Regions from separate parts of the Homo sapiens genome. Here region 2 is linked to region 1. The links are contacts of gene promoters, found by promoter capture Hi-C in human tissues and cell types (Jung and others, 2019). All regions are on one chromosome and are shown on one strand. Each heading gives the region's core, a stretch centred on a gene start or on the middle of the fragment in contact. The rest is flanking DNA. Distances are from core to core; before and after follow the strand shown. Region 1 holds the start of TEDDM1 (transmembrane epididymal protein 1). Region 2 overlaps NPL (N-acetylneuraminate pyruvate lyase).

Region 1 (7,429 bases), core at 4,550-7,049:
TCTGTTGCTCAGGCTGGATGCAGTGGCGCAATCTCGGCTCACTGCAACCTCCACTCACTGTAACCTCTGCCTCCCGGGTTCAAGCAATTCTCCTGCCTCAGCCTCCCAAGGAGCTGGGATTACAGGCGTGTGCCACCACACCCAGCTAATTTTTTGGTATTTTTAGTAGAGACGAGGTTTCACCATATTGGCCAGACTTGTCTTGAACTCCTGACCTTGTGATCCGCCTGCCTCGGCCTCCCAAAGTGCTGCGATTACAGGCGTGAGCCACTGTGCCCGGCCCTTTCTCTGTCTTTTAAAGGATCCATTCTCACTCTGCAAGTATGAAGTCCTTTACCTGGGGATCTGGAGTGCCTTCCCAGGGCCTGTGTGGTTGCCTTATACACATTAGACACAAAATTTAGGGTAGGGCTCACATTGACCAAACCTTTTCTGTTTAGGAAATGGAGTTTTCCCTGTGTATGAATGATTTCAATAGGCATTCAGTGAGACCTTTAAATCATGTTAAAGAGATACAATTGAGACTCAGGGTTGGGGAACACCCTGGAAACCCAACCCAGAATTGTAAAATATTCTTTTAAAAATTATTATTATGTAATAAACCAACATCAGTTCTTTCCAAAAGAATGGACCATAGTAGAATCTTAAACCAAATCAAAATAATAATAATAAAAATGAAGAAGAAAAGAAATAGCTCTGGAAGTTGATAGCATTATTCTTAAACCATAATTTAGGGAAAAGCTGTAGTTGGCCAAGCTTTCAAATTTCACTTTATACAATTAGAGAAGGAAAGACTACATTTACATTATACTTCAGTTCAATAACTAGCACTAAGAATGGAGGAATTGTTCTTTACAGTTTTTGATTGTTTGATATTCTTCAGTTCAAGACAGGAAATTGGAAATTCACGTCTCAGCCATATCTGTAGCCTGATTTGAGTTTTGTAGGATGCGTGCTGAAATCAGTCAAATACAAGGAACACTTCATTTCCCCAACTGCGTGTTATGATGGAAGGTTTGGGTCTGTTTGAGCTCTACCCTGAATCATGTCTCTAGCAGGAAACTACGTGGAAAGTTGGGAAGAATCAAGTTCATCTTAGTTAACAACCTGGGGAAAATGTCCTATTGAGAAAATTAAAGCCATACAATTCTAGAATTAGATCTTCACATCATTCTATCTTAAAGATGAGGAACTGAGGCTTAGATAACTCATAGTAACTTGATGAAGTCATGTTTGGTTAGTATTTTAGAGCTTAATGAGCTTTCAAGGTGCTGTTCTTTTTCTGTTCCCTTTCCTTTAGTCGCTTTGGTCTGTGGGTGATCTGTTCCGGGGCCACCATCTCTAAAATACTGAAATTCCTACAGTCCTCACTGAGGGAGGTGCAGAGGACAGGGAGCAACCATTTACCTCTCAATCCTGGGTATGCTTACCCAGTGACTTCTGTATAGCAGACACTCAATATATATTTTCTTTGTGAATAACTAGATTAGCAGAAAAAAACAACACCATAGGAAAGATTCTCTTTGAAGGACTCTTTGGAGATCATTTTTCACATCTGATAATCTGCCTCCAGTTTCATTGTTTTGTGAATCGGGTTTTTTTAGATACATTTTGTCCTTTATTCTCAATTTACACTGTACAGATCGTTGTTCTGTAGATTGATTGGAACATTATTGAAGCTAATTAAAAAATTTAGAGAATTTAGCATTCTGATCAAAAAATTATTTAGATCAGAGTATGTGCTTTAGTTGGTACCATTCCCAAAGAAATCCTCAATGGGATCCACAGCCCTTCCTCCCTCCCCTCCCACCTCATTAGTTAATTTGGATCCCTGTTTATTTCACATTGACTCGCCAAATTTTAACAGGAAACAAACAGCCCTAGGGTATGTTTTCTGGATGCTTGGGCAATTCTTAGTCTGCTTCTGGATTTTTCCTGTCCGTTCTCCTCTTCCACTTCTTTTAAACCCGTTCTCCGGAGACTTGTTTACTGGGGTTGGAGAATCAGAAGCTTGGCCGGGGTGGTGTGAACCTAGTGCCCTCTTGTGGAATTTTGTGAGAATGACAAACTCCCCCAAAGCTTGAGTGCTTTGAGTTTTTTCTTGAGTAGCCTTTAGTGGGAGGACCTTTCTGTTACATCTTAAATCTAGTAAGTTAATAACATGCAGGCTTATTGCCTACACTGAATATTTGAAAGCTATTATGTTGGGGGGTATCACTTGATTACCAGAGGCTTATTGTTATAGAATTAAGCCTCATTACAGGAAACAGGCAGCTAAGTGTTTGTGCTTTTTCATCACCTCCCATTAATGTGTAAGAGAGGTAAAGAGAAAAGGAAGGCTCCCAAAGAAAAGTAATTGAAAAAAGGCTAGGAACCAAGAGTAAAGGGGAAATGGCAAACTTTAGAAGCCTTGGTCAAAAACAAGTCTTATCCCCAGCTCTTGCTTTGGATCTGAGCCCAGAAATGTAAGACCCAGCCAGAAGTTGAGAGTCTGCCAGATTCTCACCCCCCGGGGGAGATGGGGGTCAGGGTAGGGGACAGAAAGTGTTGCATAAACCCACTCCTAAGGGAGGTCTAGGGTGTTTACACTGTGCTGTTTGCTTTACCTGGGCTTTCTGGCTTGTTTTCTTTTCTTTCTTTCTTTCTTTCTTTCTTTCTTTCTTTCTTTCTTTCTTTCTTTCTTTCTTTCCTTCCTTCTTTTCTTTTTTCTTTTTTTTTTAAGACATAGTCTCACTCTGTCACCCAGGCTAGGGTGCAGTAGTGCAATCTCAGCTCACTGCAACCTCCGCCTCCCAGGTTCAAGTGATTCTCCTGCCTTAGCCTCCCAAGTATCTGGGATTATAGGTGTGGGCCACCACACCTAGCTAATTTTTGTATATTTAGTAGAGACAGGGTTTCACCATGTTGACCAAGCTGGTCTCGAACTCCTGACCTCAAGGGATCCGCCCGCCTTGGCCTCGCAAAGTGCTGGGATTATAGGCGTGAGCCACAGTGCCCAGCCGTCTTTCTTCTTTCTTTCACAATTTCATTTTTTTCATTTTGAGATAACTTGTTTCTCCATTGCCATTAGCAAAGTCACTGTGGCCCAGAGGACACAGTCACACTTGCGTCAGACACACCTGCACTTAAATTCCTGTGTTGCCTCATACCAACTGTGAGACTTGGGCAAGTCAACCTGCTGGAGTCTCAGTTTTCTAGAGACTCCTTATAGAAACATTTGTGAGGATTAAAAACAATAACAGAGTCAACTTCAGAAACAAGTTACTGGATTTTATTATACCCCAAAACAAGGAAGAGAGTGGGTGCATTACTAAGGCAGTGACTCAGTGTTCAGGACTGTTGTTGTCACCCAGAGAGATTCACAAAACCTCCAACCTGTCCAGCAATACATTTAGAAGAAACAGGATTAGGGAAGACTCTGGAAGCAAAGAAGGCTTTATTAAACATAACCATGATCCATAGCTGGAGTATACATAGGAAATTTGGTAACTTGGATAAGGCAAAGTCTTTTCCCTTTAGGAGCCTGTACTTTAGTGGGTGAGGAAGAACCTTCTGAAAGAAAATGATTTCAGCAGCAGTATAAAAGAAAGTGGGTCACCTGTATGAGCAAACTAACAAAGCAGATTTAATGTAAGTGCCCAAGAGTTCCAAAACAAGGGAATCAGTAAGAGTTCTGGAGAAGGCCACCTTGGGGATACTTGGTGCGGTGTGGGGGTGGATGTAGGTTTATTCTGGGAATCGAATAACATGGTAAATATGTGACTGTAGGATGACTGGCTGTGATTTGCAAGGAAAAGAAATTTGCAAAGACCCAAGAATGGTATCTGCTAAATTGCATGTGCAAGGGTGGTCATGGTGAAAAGGAAAGTTTGGGCTAGAATAAGAGTAATAAAATGAGAAGTCAGGGAAGTACCAAGCATTTGAATGCTATAAAAATGCTATAGCAGTTGAATTCTATACAAATTTAAATTATGGAAATTTGAAATGTTATTAAGTATTTAAAAAGTCTCACTTTATATGTAAAGTTTGAAATGAAGCCAATTCTTGAAAGCTGCGGAGAGAGAAGGAGGCAAAGCGAGCATAATTTCAGCCTGTATGAATTAATTATAAATTCTATCATGCTATTTCCACATGGTGGCACCACTTTGGTGAGCACGTAAAGTACCCACTTTTCTTTATCAAGATGAGATTTGAATGGGTCCAGTTTTGAGTTGTGAGAAGTCTTTATTCCCTCAGGTAAAAGGCAATCCCTTGTGCCTGATGACGCTAATGACAGCATAACTGCTAGACTCTGTTCTCCTCCCTTCACAGCTCTTCCTTTTGTTGCATTCTCTTCCCCCAGTGGCTTTTCTTGCACACTAAGAAGAAGTGTTCTCCTCGTCCTTTTCCCTCCCTCCCGCAAATCCCATCAGCGTCTCTTTCTCAATCCCTCTCCCCTTATCTTCTCAGTAATTAGAGGCTCAGGGACAGAAAATGCACCAGCACGGGCATGGTGGCAGGCTCCTGTAATTGCAGCTACTCGGGAGGCTGAGGCAGGAGAATCGCTTGAACTCGGGAGGCGGAGGTTGCACTGAGCTGAGATTGTGCCATTGCACTCCAGGCTGGGCAACAGAGCGAGACTCTGTCTCAAAAAAAAAAAAAAAGAAAAGAGAAGAAAAGAAAATGAACCAGCAGACGGGACCAACTGCTAGCCTTCAAGGCCATTACCTTTACCAAGGAGGGTACCATGCTCGTGGCTGAGGAGCCAACAGGAGGAAGATGAGGTGGACGATGTGCCAGCCACTGTAGGCCCTGTCTCAGGGGGAGCTCTTTGGAAGGAGGAGAGCCTGGTCCTCTTTCTCTGACTGCTCCACTTCCTGTAGCAACTTGTAGAGGGGTCCTGGAGTGCTTGCATAATATGGAGCTTCTTTGGGCCCAGTCAGCTTCAAGCTGGGTCTGAAACAATGATACCAAAAGGAAGAGAAGCCATAGATTCCCAACAGGAATGAGGCATTGATCATCACATGCCAGCAGAAGAAGGTGGTGACAAACATGATGTCACTGATGTCATCGTCCTGCCATGGGTAGCCAGAGACGGGTCTGTATAGAATAAAGCCTGCCTGCATCAGCCAGGAGCCCATCATCAGAATCAGAAAGGTCTCCATCAGCTGGAGATGACACATGTTGGGAGCCCACAGCTCTGCAGTCAACACCAGCAACAGCAGGAACACCACCAAGATGAGCAGAGAATAAACGTGCAGCTCCACCCCTTCTGAATCTTTAACATGTGACACCATCAGCAGCAGGAGCTCGTAGATGATCAGGACCAGGGTACCTTTTTCTAGGCCCACACACCTCTGAGGCAGCACATTCTTGCTCATGAAGTCCACACAGCCATTAAGAGTGAGGAGGATGAACATGGTGAGGTGCTGCCACTCTTTGGGGTACATGAACCTTGATGGCACTTGCTTCCTCATGAGCACCATCCCGCCATCAAGACAGAGAACCACATAAAATGTTAAGAGGGAGCCAGTCACTATCTTTAGTAATCCTCCATAGGCTATTTTCCACAGCCTGGCACATCTTTGCTTATTCCTGGGAGAGCACAAAGGATACAGGAGACAACCTTTGAGTATCATGCCCTTGGAGACCACTGTGGCCTGATATAGTCCATAAGAGAAAAGAAATAGCCCCAGTTAAAAATGGCCAATGGACTTTCCCATGGAATACAGGCCTGTCCGACTGAAGCGTGAAGAGCAATACTCAGGACCTCTCTGCTCTCCTCTCCCTCACAGGCCTCTCGAGTTCTGGGCCTATATATACAGAGCTAAGTTCTACCTACTTTTATCATCTCCTTCTGCCCACTGCTCTCTCACAGACTGGAAAGTTCTGGACAGGAGCCTAGGTTTTTAGTGAGGTGGGTCTCATTGTTCCATTTCATTCCAGTACACTGGGAACTAATTGAGTTCTGCCAAAGTAGAAACATAAATATTTTTTAGTATGCACCTGTGGGAATTTGTGCTCTCAGGAGCTCTGCTTTTGGACCCTTGAGGACCTTCTGGTTACACTTGTCCCTCTCTCTCATGGCTTGCTTCCTTCTGCCCCTGTTCAATGCTCGGAGTAGAAAAAGAGAGGTGCCTGAGCACGGAGATTATCCAGAGAAGACCCGGGTTACTCACAAACCTTAATGCATCCTTTAAGACTCCTTACTCGGACAGGCATGGTGGCTCAAGCCTGTAATCCCAGCACTTTGGGAGGCCAAGGCAGATCTCGAGGTCAGGAGTTCGAGATCAGCCTGGCCAACATGGTGAAATCCCATCTCCACTAAAAATACAAAAACTAGCTGGGCATGGTAAAGAGTGCCTGTAATCCCAGCCACTTGGAAGGCTGAGGCAGGAGAATTACTTGAACCCGGGAGGCGGATGTTGCAGTGGGCCAGGATCATCTCACTACACTCCAGCCTGGGTGACAGAGCGAGACTGTCTCAAAAAAAAAAAAGACTCCTTACTCATATGTTGGGTCATATACTGAGAGCAAATACATTCTTCCTAGACATAAAAGTTTATAAACGTTTGGATGTGTGCTCATATATATAGATACTGAGCTCTTGTCCTCTTCATTCTTCTGTAACAGTTTTTGGGGATCACAAAGAAAGCAGCTCAATTGCCCCAAATTATCTTTCCAAAGAACAGTAGATGAATGTAAAATGTCACCTTTTGAGATCAATTTTGGAATGTTAAGGTATAATTTTTTATTAAAATGCAGATATGTTGAGATAAGTAGATCCAACAAACTGCTTATATTTTAATGTGAATTAGGTCCTCAACTTTATTCTCTCTTTAATTATCATTTACTATGTGTCTAACACATATAGGCAGAAAGAGTTCTAAGCACTAGGTAGCAGCCAGCTGCATATGAGGGGTTGCATCCAAGGCAAGAGTCTTCATTTATTTATTTTTATTTCTATTTTTATTTTTATTTTTAGACAGTGTCTCGCTTTGTTGCCCAGGTTGCAGTGCAGTGGCTTGATGACGGCTCACTGCAGCCTCAACCTCCTGAGCTCAATCAATCCTCCTGCCTCAGCTGCTGAGTAGCTGGGACAACAGACATGAGCCACCACATCCAGCTATTTTTTGTAGAGATGAGGTCTCACTACATTGTCCATGCTGGGTCTCAAACTCCTGGGCTCAAGTGATCCACCCACCTCAGCCTCCCAAAGTACTGGGATTACAGGCGTGAGCCACCGTACCTGGCCCCATTTATTTATTTATTCATTATTTTTTATTTTTTAAAATGAAAGCACATTTATTAAGAAAAAAAGGAATAAAAGAATGGCTACTCTATAGGCAAAGCAGCCCCCATTTATTTTTTTTATAAAAATTAATGTCTATATAGCCCCTCCTTATCCATGGGTGATACTTTCTAAGACTCCCAGTGGATGCCTGAAACC
Region 2 (7,216 bases), core at 748-3,247, 420 kb after region 1:
TTCTCTCTACCATGCCTGCCCTCATTAAAATTGCCCAGCCACTTCTTTCTTTACCTTTCTTCTGTTTTGTACTTTTTCTTGTTTAAAACCAAAGCTGTCCCCATTGTCTGTGTTCCCGACATGTCTAATCAGGACAGGACCCATACAGGGATGGCTCCTCTCTTCCTCCTAGAAAGGATCTTATTTTTACTCTATCTTCAAAGTACTTTTGTGACTATAATAAAATGGTCATAGATTTCTGGGAAAATGACCACAGGCTGTCCCCTTGAGGACATCACATCAGAGTTATCACAGAATATGAGGAAGCTATGAAGATGGTAACCTAAAATGGGGAAGGCTTCATTCAAAGTCAGGGCAGGTCAGTCTTGTCCACCCTGGAAATGTGCTGAGAACTAGGAACATCCACCAGGAAGGAAATAAGAGCCTAGTGGGTGATCCAAAGTAGATACAGGATTTGAGACAGGAAGGAAAAACCAGCAGAAGCTGATATGTTGCACGGAAGACCCCAGAGGACATAGTGGCTGCTGTGAATGTTCCATGGAGGACAGCCTAGCCATCAGGGAAAGAAGAGCCTCAGTGAAGGGTGGAACAGTCTCAACAACTGGTTGTCTTTTATTTAGAGATAGGGTCTTGCTCTGTTGCCCAGGCTGGAGTGCAGCGATGTGATCATAGCTCACTGCAGCCTTGAATCCTCCTGGGCTCAAGCAGTCCTCCCGCCTCAGCCTCCTGAGTAGCTGGGACTACAGGCATGCGCCACCATGCCCAGCTAACATCTGGTTCTAACCCATGGTTCTAAAGTGTAAATGGAATGAATTGGAAGAAAGTAGGGTGGATATGAGAGCAAGACTTTTGGGGTCTGAGAGGCGTGAGGATTTTCAGGATAGTATAAGTGGTTGAGAGGAGTATCCCAAGAAAATAAGTGGGAATGGAAAGACAGAAGCAAGATTGGAGCAAATGGTTGGTCCTAATAAAGCTTGGCTGTGGGATCTTTCTGAACAGGACAGGCTGCCATCAGGGTAATCAGAGATTACAGATCAGAAGTACAAAGTATCCTGGGGGTTAAAGGAAGTGACCTGCAGCCCCAACCCAAAGACAACATGAAGAAGCAGAATCCAGAGTGGTTTATTCCCTACCCGTAGGCCTCAAAGTTGAGCCATCATAAATCTACTTCCTCCTTAAAGTTTAAATACCATATGTAATATTCGCCTTTGTCCTCAGACCAAGTGAAGCTAAGAACAGGAACAGGGTAGGGATCTAGGAAGCTGTGCCAAATAAACTAAACATCGACAAGACTTTGGTTTAGATAAGGGTGAGAAGAATGAATTGTGCAGACTCTGCCATCTCCTTGCATTGATGGTTCTCTCCACCCTGCCCAGTTTCCTAGAAAAGGTTATTTCTGAAAATTCTAACCTGTTCTGAGCAGAACATGGAAATCATAGATGGAGTAGACTGAAGCAGCTATAATGCTGACCCTTCCATTCAGTGACTTCTCTTATTGGTTAATCTAGTCTCCATCTTTTTTCCCCTCTTAGTCCCACTCTAAATAAATCATCCCATTGAAAACAATGTTGGTAAGGAACTTAGTTTACCACTCTCTGTTTCAAATAAATCATCCCATTGAAAACAATGTTGGTAAGGAACTTATTTTACCACATTCTCTGTTTCTTCTTAAGAAAGCACGTGTGAGTGAGTCTTATTTACTCAGTACATAATTTCAGTAAAGGTGGTTTCTGCTCTTAAAGAGCTTGTAGTCAAGTGAAGAAGCAGACAAAAAGTTAGGGCTAAATTTATCTCATTCACTTTAATGTACTTAAGTGCCATCTGTTATATTTACATGAGTGAAATTACACATGTACAAAGATATTCCTTGCAGCTTTGTTTGTAACAGCAAAAGATAAAAACAGCCCAAATATTCATCCATAAGGCAATGGTTAAATACATTTTATTATGCAATTGAATTATATATAGCTCTTAAAATGAGATAGCTTTATGTATTCTGACCTGGAAAGATCTACATGCTATGTTAAATGGAAAAAAGCAGCAAAATATAAGATAGTAAATGTAATGTGCTATATTGTTCATGGGGTAGAACATATATGTTTGTAAGTCTCTGGGTATTAAAATTTTATTCTACATTTTATTTCTAGTATACAGTCAGTTAAAACAAATATGTTAAGCATTTTGAAAAATACTTTTAAATATAAAATGTTATTGAAAATGCATCTCTTAATAAGATGCATGAGGTTCTAAGGCCGGGCACGGTGGCTCACGCCTGTAATCCCAGCACTTTGGGAGGCTGAGGTGGGCGGATCATGAGGTCAGGAGATTGAGACCATCATGGCTAACGTGGCAAAACCCCGTCTCTACTAAAAATACAAAAAATTAGCCGGGCGTGGTGGCGGGCGCCTGTAGTCCCAGCTACTTGGGAGGGTGAGGCAGGAGAATGGCATGAACCTGGGAGGCAGAGCTTGCAGTGAGGCGAGATCATGCCACCGCACTCCAGCCTGGGTGACAGAGCGAGACTCTGTCTCAAAAACATAATAATAAAATAAAAATTAAAAGATGCATGAGGCTCTTTTTTAAAAAATCAGTTTGTCTGGAATCCGTGGATGAATATTACTTAATGCTAGGATAAGTTGAGGTTCAGCATCAATACTATTTTTGTTTTTAGAGAAGTAAGTGCTACAAAACTGTGTTCATGTAAGTTAGATAATAATGGAAGGAATTTTGTTATAGCAGTGTCACCCAGTTCTTTGAACATTTTTTGAGTCATATGCCAAAATCACAGAATGCTTTAATGATTTTCAGCTGAAACCTGAGTAGCAGTGTAGAAAGGAAATCATTGAAAAACCTCTGATTTTTGAGAGGACTTATTACCTATTAATTAGAAGAATCACTGTCCCTCTCTTTATCAATACCAATACTGATATTTTGATTTGTATCCCAAGGCAGTGATATAGAAGGCTGTCTTTATTTTTTTTCAAAAGTAGAAAAGACTGTGCAAGGGGAAACAGAAAAGAACAACCTGCACCTCCATTTCATGCAGATTCTTATGCTGATCAATTTTAGAAAACAGCACTTATGGAAGTTGAGGATCTAGAAATTGATTCCCATAAATCTTAGCCTTAGCCATGTGCTCCTTAGGCATCCTGGAAGGTGCCCCAGAGCTTATATGCACCTGAGTTTGAAAACCACTGCACTAGCTGATAAGTTTACCTATGTAAGCCAGATGGATAAGGGGTGTGATTCCCATCTTTACTCTCTTGTAGAATTCCATCATTGAAGCTTCTTTTCTGCACGGGCCCATTTTGTAAAGCCTACATGTATGAAAAGATCTTACCTTAGCCTGGATGGATCCCAGCCATCTTCACTTGGCTATTTTTCTCCACTCTGACAGACCTTCAGTAAATGAAGGTGTGCAGACTTTTTAGGGTTTCTGTAATTTGACTTCTACATTATTTACATTGTTTACACAGTTCAATAATACTAACTATAGATATGTTGTTCTTTTCTAGTTTTGTATCCAGAGATTTATCAACTTTGTTGTCAAACTAGGTAAGTGCCACCCATCTTCTGCTTTGTCTGCTGCTGGAGACTGTAAAGAAAATGGAATACCATCACTTTCTCTGAGGGTTCAACAAGAACACTTTTTAATGGTCTGTTGCAAGCAGAGTTCTGTTTCCCTTATTAACCCTCGGGGCCAACCATATAAAACTGTGAAGTAAACCTAGTTGGAAAATCTTTGGCAACCTTCTCCATTTTAGCACATGCCTACCCCATTTTCCATTCTTTCTCTCCTAAACCATCAGCACTCCCTCCCTTTACTTGCTTCAGCTCATTAAAATTCTACTACTGCATTGAGGTTGATTTCAGCCTAAGTGCTTGGAGGAAGGCAGTCTAAATACAGATTTTACTAAATTGTGAATGACTGACAGCTCTCCCAAGAGTATTTACAATTTAAACAGAGTTTATTAACACAAGTAAGCCTAAATGGATGGAGGTTTGGATAATATGACAAAGTAAAATTGGGGAGCAGTCGTGGGGAGAAATACAGTGAATTTGAGTAGAGAAACCGCTCCAGAGTCTCTTAAATCTTCTATAACAAATGACAAATGCCACTATCCACTCTTCTGCAAGAGATTGGCCCTTGGGCCAATTGAATCTGCGTTAATGCAGGAAAATTTTTAAGTTTATTTTTGGTAGACCTCCCTGCTCCCTGTCAGAGTCCTGCATAATTCTGACAACTCCTCCCTCTCCCCCAAGCACCTCTTCTGTGTTATGCCCCTCATTCTTGCAGGGTTCTCAACCCACTCTCTTACTCCTTCAAGGACGTTTCTGTTTGTTTTTCCACTTTCGTGATTTTTGCACATTTGTGTGCTGCCAGTGCTATGAACTACCTATTATTGTTCCATTTTTCTAAGCAATGGTTTCACAAAATTGTGGGTTTGGTGTGATAATTATTATGTTCCTAAAATACATTAAAATAGGTATTGAACTGTTAAAATTTTAGACAAACTAAAAGCTTGATGTGTGTAGTAGTCCCCCCTTATCTCAGGGGGATATGTTCCAAGATGACCAGTGGATGCCTGAAATTGCAGATAATACGAAACCCTATATATACTATGTTTTTTCCTGTACATGCATACCTATGGTAAAGTTTAATTTATAAATTAGGCATAGTAAGAGATAAACAGTAACTAATAATAAAATAGAACAATTATAACAATATACTGCAATAAAAGTTATATAACTATGGTCAGTCTCTCTGTCTGTCTCTCAAAATACCTTATTATTTTTGGACTGCAGTTGACCACAGGTAACTGAAACCATGGAAAGTGAAACTGCAGACAAGGGAGACCTACTGTATATTCGATCATGCTAATATTTTCCCTCCCAATGCTCAGTTTTTACTGCAACTAAGTTAACTTAGCAAAAGAAAGTTAGTTCTTCTATCTTGAATCTGAACGCAATAGCCAGCTAAGAAAACAAATTACAGACATTTTAGAAGATGGGGATTGGGGATTATGATGGATAATTATTAGTTATGCTTTTTACATATTAACAGTGTACCTGATCTTCCATTTGCCTCTCCAATCTGAAGGCTTTGTCTTTCTTTAGTTCTGAAAAAATTCTCTGTTATCTGTAAAGAATGTTTTGACTACATTTACTCAAATCTCTCATTCTGAAAGTCTATTAGTTGTATTTTGGATTTTCTCAATCTGTATCTCAATTTTAAAAAACATTTAACATATCTTTCTATGCTGTATTCTGGATTATTTCCTTAGATCTACCTTGAAAATCACTAATTCTTTCTTTAGCTATGTTTTTACTGTTTGATTTCCCTAAATATATATATTTTTTTCAGTATTTCTTGTTGTTTTATACTCTACTGTTCTTTACTTCTCTTAGCCTATGGCTTCTATTCCTTCTTTTATCTCTGAGAAGTCTCTTTCAGAATTTTCTGTCATCTACTCTCAGGATGTAAGTTTTGTCATTTTTGAATGTGCTGGTTCTCCTGCTGCTGCTTTTCCTCATGGGTTTTGTAATTTTTAGCTTTGAGCTCATGTTCAGAGACTGTTGTTTTCTGGGTAACCCATTGAACATTAGGTTGTAAGGTGCCCTATCAAGTGAGTTTACATTTGCCTCTGCTAGGACACTGTAGTTCCACCAGTTCTAACCAGTCTTTCGGTTAATTTTTTAGTATAGTACCTATACTAAGTGTGTGACATACATTGAGATCCACCATTCACCTTTGGCTCAGGCTTGAGATTTCTTTCATGAGATCTGTTTCCATCCACAAGCCTAGTAGAAGTCAAGCTTTCTTCTTTATCCCCAGACCAGTGGGCTGGGTTTTTTTCTATTGCTTTTTACAGAAGGCTGACTACCAGTTTTACATAGGTAGTTTAATTCCAGCTTCTCACCATGCATAGATCTAAGGCTTCATTTTCCATTCCCATCCCAGCCGTATAACACCAGCATGAAAACAGCAGCGTTGAGTCATAAGCCACCTTAAGTACTGCATTTCTTAGGGACTTCCTAAATAAGCTTAAACTAAATTTCATGCTGGCAATAAAGTCCTACCTCCTTTGATCAACAATAGTATATTCCTAAATCAGATTATCCTCAAGGGCTGTTTGGCATCAGCTTCTCCTCACCCTTCTGACCTCTTTATTCCTGACACCTTTGGCTTCTCCTTCTTGGGTTTAAGATTAACCTTGAGTCTTTGTTTTCTTTTACTGTGATCAACTTTTAAAATTTTCCAGCGTTCTGTGTTTGAAGCAGGAAGAGGGATTTCGAATGATTGCTCATCTGTCATATTGACTAGAAATGTTCCCATCTTTTGTTTTAATCTTACCCTGTTGTAGTAGTTGCTGTTAGCATATGATCTCCTTCTTTGGGATTTTTGTGGAGAGATAGACGGTACCAGTCATGTTTCCTCATTTGTTTTTCCCGTCTAGGTTTTGGAGTGTCACAGACCAAAGCCATCATGACTCTGGTCTCTGGGATTCCAATGGGCCCACCCCGGCTTCCACTGCAGAAAGCCTCCAGGGAGTTTACTGATAGTGCTGAAGCTAAACTGAAGAGCCTGGATTTCCTTTCTTTCACTGATTTAAAGGATGGAAACTTGGAAGCTGGTAGCTAGTGCCTCTCTATCAAATCAGGGTTTGCACCTTGAGACATAATCTACCTTAAATAGTGCATTTTTTTCTCAGGGAATTTTAGATGAACTTGAATAAACTCTCCTAGCAAATGAAATCTCACAATAAGCATTGAGGTACCTTTTGTGAGCCTTAAAAAGTCTTATTTTGTGAAGGGGCAAAAACTCTAGGAGTCACAACTCTCAGTCATTCATTTCACAGATTTTTTTGTGGAGAAATTTCTGTTTATATGGATGAAATGGAATCAAGAGGAAAATTGTAATTGATTAATTCCATCTGTCTTTAGGAGCTCTCATTATCTCGGTCTCTGGTTCCTAATCCTATTTTAAAGTTGTCTAATTTTAAACCACTATAATATGTCTTCATTTTAATAAATATTCATTTGGAATCTAGGAAAACTCTGAGCTACTGCATTTAGGCAGGCACTTTAATACCAAACTGTAACATGTCTCAACTGTATACAACTCAAAATACACCAGCTCATTTGGCTGCTCAGTCTAACTCTAGAATGGATGCTTTTGAATTCATTTCGATGTCACCACTTTTCGCTCTTTAAA

What was found. Contacts are between HindIII fragments. The study calls those that stand out against the background at their distance.
Region 2: a fragment that was not itself captured here is called in contact with the fragment with the promoter of TEDDM1 in region 1 in 1 of the 25 tissues and cell types used here (spleen).

The regions. Positions count from the first base shown.
Region 1 is chr1:182,394,868-182,402,296 of GRCh38, forward strand. It overlaps TEDDM1 (transmembrane epididymal protein 1), which reads right to left and starts at 5,800. Exons shown (of 1, transcript NM_172000.4): 1 at 3,250-5,800. The coding sequence starts at 5,618. The coding sequence ends at 4,797. The HindIII fragment of the contact is 14,950 bases long and covers 1,384-7,429 here.
Region 2 is chr1:182,822,266-182,829,481 of GRCh38, forward strand. It overlaps NPL (N-acetylneuraminate pyruvate lyase), which reads left to right. Exons shown (of 13, transcript NM_030769.3): 12 at 3,516-3,555; 13 at 6,459-7,216. The coding sequence ends at 6,643. Among named protein-coding and RNA genes, the nearest start is that of DHX9, 13 kb to the right of the region's middle. The HindIII fragment of the contact is 3,812 bases long and covers 92-3,903 here.